Linked DNA regions of Homo sapiens: region 2 is linked to region 1. Evidence: promoter capture Hi-C in 16 types of primary human blood cells and fetal thymus (Javierre and others, 2016). All regions are on one chromosome and are shown on one strand. Each heading gives the region's core, a stretch centred on a gene start or on the middle of the fragment in contact. The rest is flanking DNA. Distances are from core to core; before and after follow the strand shown. Region 1 holds the start of PLEKHO1 (pleckstrin homology domain containing O1). Region 2 overlaps LOC124904413 (a long non-coding RNA gene).

Region 1 (3,301 bases), core at 484-2,983:
CAAAATCTGAAGAGGAGACTGCAGTCAGGAAGCCTGGATTCTAATCCATTTAGCCAGTAACTTGATGTATAAACTTGGGCAAGTCAGTTTATCTGGCATGCCCTGTTTCCTCATTTTCCAAATGGAAATATTAATACTCTATATACCTTACAAGGTGGCATTAAAAGTGTAAAGAAATGACATATAAGAGCATTTTGAAAGGATAAAGTTCTGTGTCAGTCTAAAATCGTGGAATTAATTGGTATGGTGAATGGAAAGAAGTTGAGAGGAATATCATTGGATTAGGAGGAAAGGTGGAACTGGAAAAGAGAGGGAGCCCCTCCTTCATTTGACAGACACCAGAAAAAGTCAAAAGAGCCTCCACTATTCAAACCACAAATCTAGCCAACACTTTTATCTTGAGACATCTCTGGAAAAATGATTTTTCCTTTTCCCTGCTCCTCAGTGCCAGGGATTTTTATTCATTTTGTGGTTACTGCATGCTTGCCATATGCCAGGCAATGTGTTTATTAGCTTATTATGATTTCAAAATTAGCCCTGGAAGACAACACATATCTTCAAAGGACTCTCAGAGGTCATCTCATATCTTCCCCTAGCTTTCCTTGTTGATAAAAATGGCAGTTCATCCCTCACCACTTAATACGTGGAGGGACGCGGGCCTAAAGAAATTCAGTGACTTGACCAAAGCCCAGAGTGGTGATGAAACCAGTACCCAAGCGCGGGGTTTCTCACTCCCCTTTTCCATCACACGTATATATATTAAAAAGACATGAAGTTACTAAGATGTGTCCTGGAGGCTCTGAGGCAGATCTGCTGTAGGAGGGATCAGCAGAGGCTTCTCTAGTCAGGGCATTCTCTGGGCGTTCAGCCCTTCCCTCCACTGGGCTCCAGCGCTGTAGAGAGGGTGGGGTTTTTACCTATCAGTATAGCGGGAAAAGATACCCAGGTGGCAGGAAGTTTAAGCCTCACCTGGAACTTATATTGAAAGCCACTTGGTAGAAAGGATAATGGTTTGGAGACAGAGTTCTATTCCTGCCAGCATTGACACTGTGTCTGAAAAGCCAGCATCGACACTGTGTCTGCAAATCCCTCAGCTATTCTGAGTCTCCGTTTTCTCCCTGTGAGATGGAGATCATAAAATCCGCCTCATCCTTAGGATTATTCTCCTGAAGCTACAATAAGGCCTGAGGCATTGTACGCTGGAAGAAACGTGTATTAATAGCAACTTCTGTCCCACCCCATCCCCCAACACGTCGATCCCCTCCGGAGCATAAAACTTTCCCCCAGCATCTGACCTGCCCAGGCCACCCTAGCACCTAGGAGCGTGAATTCCTGATGCGGGTTGTGGGTGGCGCGCCCTCCCGGTTCCCGCTCTCGTTTTTGTTTTTGGTCGGGTAAGGCGATGCTGTAGAGGCTGGCGATCTCCAGTCTTCACGAATCCGCACGTCTCTCCATTATCCACCGCGCCCGCCCACTGGGCCCCGGGGCGGCCGGCGGCCGGGTCTCTCGGGCTCCGCGTGTCGCCCGAGCCGCCGCCGGAGCGAGGGTCCCTGCCCCCTGGGGAGCGGTCTCCAGCCGCTTCGAAGCCGCCTTCTTCCCCCTCCGTGAGTCAGAAACAAAGGCGGGGGGGCGGGGGGAGCGCCCGAGCTGCGGCTCCGCGATTCGCCCTTTATTCTGAACTCGCAACGTCAGCGGCCCGCGGATGGAGCTGCGGGGTGCGGACTGGGCCGCCCACAGCGCACCGGGCCGGGGGAGCGGCCGCGCTGGGCCGGGCGGGCGGGTGGCGGGGGTGCGCTCGGGGACCCGGGCCGCGTGGGCGCCGGGATGGAGGGCGCCAAGGGGCGGGGAGCGGGCGTGCGTGTGTGTGCGAGTGCGAATGCGAGGGAGGCCGGCCTTGAGTGAAACCGGAGCTACAAAGAAGGGGAGAGTCCGGGAGCGGGAGGGCGCGAGGGAGGAGCGGCGGCGCCGGGGCAGCTCCGACGCCCTCCCGCGGGGAAGGAGCCCCCGCGGTGCCGCCGAGGCCCCGACGCGGGGCCGCCCCTCGGCTCGCCGCCCCGCGCCCGCGCCCGCTGGGAATGATGAAGAAGAACAATTCCGCCAAGCGGGTGAGTGCGCTTGCCCGCCCTGCGGCCGCCGCCGCCTCCGCGCTCTGACGACCCCCGCTCCGTCGGCGCCGCGGCGGCCTGGGAGACCCACGGCCCGGCCGCGCCCCCGCCCCGGCGGCCCGGTCCCCTCGGCCTCGGCCCCGCCAGGCGCCCGCGGGGGCTTTTGTTTGTTTACTCGCCTCGGGGGGCTTCAACTTGGCTGAGTTTCCCCACGACCCGCACCTCCCCCGCCCCCGGGCGCCGGGCGAGCGTTTGCCTCGCGCTCCGCCGTGGCGAGGAGACAATGGGAGAGAAAACCAGAGAAACGCCGTTAGTCCCCGCGCGGCGAGGACGGGGCGGCGGGGGCGCAGGGCCTGGAGGGAACCTGGGAGCCTCTCCGCGCCCGGCCGGCGCCCCTGCCACTTGCAGCCCCGGTTGTTTATTCGGGAGCGGGGGAGGGGAGCGGGGGGAGTTCCTCGGAGTGAAAACCTTTCCGAAGTGGGAGCGAACCTGGGGCGGCCCCCCGCCCCCCGGCCGCAGCCTTCGGAGGAGACTGGGCCGCCGAGGCGGTCGTGAGAGACGGACGGAGAGGAAGCGCCGGCTGGAATCTCCTAACCGCCCGCTTCTCATCTTGTCCTGGGGCAGGGACCTCAGGATGGAAACCAGCAGCCTGCACCGCCCGAGAAGGTCGGCTGGGTCCGGAAATTCTGCGGGAAAGGGATTTTCAGGGAGATTTGGAAAAACCGCTATGTGGTGCTGAAAGGGGACCAGCTCTACATCTCTGAGAAGGAGGTGGGTGCCTCTTGCCTCTAACTCTCCGTTTTCTCATAGCCCCCACTTTGTCACTCCCCAAGGGCTCGCCTAGCTTACTCCACCCCCGTTTTGTTCCAAAGGCAAGTTCAGTGGTCTCCTCTCTACCCCCATCTCATCTGCAGAGAAAGGCCACCCTTTAATGAGAAGACCAGAGTGAGAATTAGAAGTTGAGTTGGCCGCTTACTCAGTGTTTTTTTGTTTGCAAATACCTTTCTAACAACGATAAGCCCCTCCCAAGATGCCCCAGAAGTTCTAAGTGTCCCTTGCTGCCTCCCACCCTAACCTGGCCTCCTGCATATAGGATTTCTTTTCTATTTCTGCTGAAACAGTTTAGCCTATTCGCCACCCCTTCCTGTCCCCCCACCTTAACCCAGCCAGCCTCCCCTTTCCTGTCTGTGGCAGGA
Region 2 (3,301 bases), core at 323-2,822, 110 kb before region 1:
TGTTATTCTTAATTTTTATTATGCATTCTTAAATTATAAAGTCTAAAATTATGGCACTTCATGATTTTTGAGTTTTATGTTTTGCTTAGAAAAGCTAATCTCAGTTTCAAGAATAAAAATTATTTTTATTTTCTGTAGTACTTTTATAATTTTTGTCTGTACATTTTAGTAATTAACTCATCTATAATTCTTTCTGTGTAGGGTTTCAGGGAGGGAATCTACCTTTATTTAGTGTCCAAATAAATAACTAATGGTCTGAACACCTCTTATACTGTCCATTTCTTCCCCACTGATTTGAAATGTAATCTTTATTATTAAGTAAATTTCCATATATATGGATCTATTTTGATACATTCTACTCTATTCCAATCTATTTAGCTTTCCTTTGCCATTACTAAACTATCTTAATTACTCTTGTCTTTCTAATATCTAATAGAGCAAGTTCTTCCAGCCCTATATGCTATTCATTGCTCTTTAAAAACAGAAAAGAAAAAACTTTTACAATTGTCTGTTCTTGTCTATATTCTCTCTTCATATGTCAAGTTCCTATCCTCAATTCTCTCTTCATATGTCAAATTCCTATCAAGGTTTTGATTGAGATTACATTGAATTTAATGATTAATTGAGAGATTACCATAATCATAAGACTGAATATTATCATAAATTATATTATCTCTTCATTTATTAAAAAAAAAATTTTTTTTGAGACGGATTCTCGCTCTGTCACCCAGGCTGGAGTGCAGTGGCGCGATCTAGGCTCACTGCAAGCTCCGTCTCCCGGGTTCAAGCCATTCTCCTGCCTCGGCCTCCCAGTAGCTGGGACTACAGGTGCCCACCACCATGCCCAGTTAATTTTTTGTATTTTTAATAGAGACAGAGTTTCACCGTGTTAGCCAGGATAGGCTCAATCTCCTGACCTCGTGATCGCCTGCCTCGGCCTCCCGAAGTGCTGGGATTACAGGCATGAGCCACTGCGCCTGGCCTATTCAAAATGTTTTAAAGTGTCTTTCAGAAAATATTTATACTTTCTTTCTCATATAAGTGTTACACATTTCTTGTCCAGTTTAGGCTTTTGTTATTCTTATAAATGTAATTTTTTTCCTCTACATTTTTTCATTAGTTATTGTGGCATAAGAGCAGATACTGATTTTGTTTTCCTTATACGGAGCCATTTTATTGCACTCTCATTAATTCAAATTAGTGCTTCATTGGTTGTCTTAGATTACCTCTATTGCCTGTGTATATAATGATTTTTGTTGCTTCCTTTCCAGTATTTAACTCATTTCTATGTTTCTTTTCCATTGGCTAAGACCTCTAGAACACTGTTGAATAGCAGCAGTTATAGCAGGCATTTTTTGTGTTATTCATGAAAAGCCTTCTAACGTTTCATAATAAACTGTGATGTTTAAGTTTTTAAATAGATAGCCTACATCAAATTAAGGAAATTTCCTTTTCCTAGCTTACAATAGCTTTTATCAGGAATGGGAGTTAAATTTTATCAATAGGGTTTTCAGTATCTTAGAAAGATGATCTCTTTTATTATTTTTCTTTCAGTATACTGAACATATTCCTTAAGGTCAACCACAGTTGGATCAAACCTACTTGGTTAATTCAGTTCATTCAATTCAACAAATATTCATGTACTTAATATATGCCAGGCAGCTTTCTGGCCACTTAGCTTGTATTAAAGGAACTCACAATGATTCCTACCCTCATGGAGCTTATATTCTAGTAGATATCCATGATCTATTTTTTGTTTAACCTGTTGTTGAATTAAAATTGCTAATTTTTGATTTAATATTTTTATATTTACATTTATAAATGAGATTGATACAAGTATTTCTTTCTGTGCCATACTTGTTTGCTTCCCTTATTAAGATTTACCTTACAGAAATATATTGCAAATGTCTCATTATTTTCTATGCTATGGAAATGTGAAAGTAACAAATGAATTTGTCTCTTCTTTAGAGATTATCTATAACTTGCCCATAAAATCACCTAGACTTGAGACCTTTTCTTTCCTTTTTTTTTTTTTTGAGATGGAGTCTCACTCTGTTGCCCAGGCTGGAGTGCAATGGTGCAGTCACTGCTCACTGCAACATCTGCCTCCTGGGTTTAAGCCATTCTCCTGCCCCAGCCTCCCAAATAGCTGGGATTACAGGTTCCCGCCACCATGCCCAGCTAATTTTTGTATTTTTAGTAGAGACAGGGTTTCGCCATGTTGACCAGGCTGGTCTCAAATTTGTGACTTCAAGAGATCTGCCCTCCTCGGCCTCCCAAAGTGCTGGGATTACAGGTGTTTGCCACAGCGCCTGGCCTCTTTTCCTTTTTTTAATTAAAAAAATTTGTTTCATCGTAGTTAAAAAAATACATACAATTTACCATCTTAATAATTTTTAAGTGTACAGTTCAGTCATGTTAACTATATTGTGCTCTTTTTCTTCTTCAATAATTTTTTTTAATATCTTAGATTCCCCACCTCTTTTTGAGTCAATTTTGGTTTGTTATATACTTAGATAAATTTCACCCGAATTTTAAATTTATTGCTATAAGGTAATATGCAATACATTAGTATGCTTTTAAAATCTTCACTATTTCTGTGATTATATGTCCTTTTCATTCCAATGCTTTGTTGTTGTTGTTTTTGTTTGTTTGTTTCGAGACAGAGTCTCACTCTGTTGCTCAGGCTGGAGTGCAGTGGTGCCATCTCAGCTCACTGCATCCTCCGCCTCCCGCGTTCAAGCGATTCTCATGCCTCAGCCTCCAGAGTAGCTGGGATTACAGGCTCATGCCACCACACCCGGCTAATTTTTTGTATTTTTAGTAGAGATGGGGTTTCACAATGTTGGCCAGGCTGGTCTCAAACTCCTGGCCTCAAGTGATCCACCCACCTCGGCCTCCCAAAGTGCTAGGAAAACAGGCGTGAGCCACTGCACCTGGCCCTGATGCTATTTTTATATTTTCTCTCCTTCTCCATCTTTCTTTTTTTAATCAGACTTGCCAAAGATTGGTCTGTTTTATTGGTTATCAAATAATCAGATTTTTAGTACACTAATTGAGTGTGCCTTTTATTGTTTGTTTTTTATTTCATTAATTTCTGCTTTATCTCTTTTAATTCCATCCCCCAACTTTTAAAAGAGTTGTTTGTAATGTTCTTTGCCTAGCTTATTGAGTTTAATGTTTGGTTCATTGATTTTCAATCTTTTATGTTCTTTGAGTGCATTTCTAAAGCTATACATCTTCTTTTGAATGCCACTTTCTGTACACTATAGGTTTTGCTTTGTAATGTTTTCAGTATTGT

The links. The method cuts DNA at HindIII sites, captures the fragments that hold promoters and counts their contacts. A CHiCAGO score of 5 or more calls a contact.
Region 2: a fragment that was not itself captured here is called in contact with the fragment with the promoter of PLEKHO1 in region 1 in 5 of 17 cell types (erythroblasts, naive CD8 T cells, neutrophils and 2 more); the score reaches 10.3 in erythroblasts.

Annotation. Positions count from the first base shown.
Region 1 is chr1:150,148,183-150,151,483 of GRCh38, forward strand. PLEKHO1 (pleckstrin homology domain containing O1) reads left to right here and starts at 1,734. Exons shown (of 6, transcript NM_016274.6): 1 at 1,734-2,105; 2 at 2,730-2,876. The coding sequence starts at 2,076. RefSeq lists silencers at 1,362-1,821, 1,962-2,041 and an enhancer at 1,674-2,174. The HindIII fragment of the contact is 16,730 bases long and covers 1-3,301 here.
Region 2 is chr1:150,038,692-150,041,992 of GRCh38, forward strand. The region is part of intron 1 of LOC124904413 (a long non-coding RNA gene); the gene reads left to right. It also overlaps a transcript of OTUD7B not described here. Among named protein-coding and RNA genes, the nearest start is that of VPS45, 27 kb to the right of the region's middle. The HindIII fragment of the contact is 5,988 bases long and covers 1-3,301 here.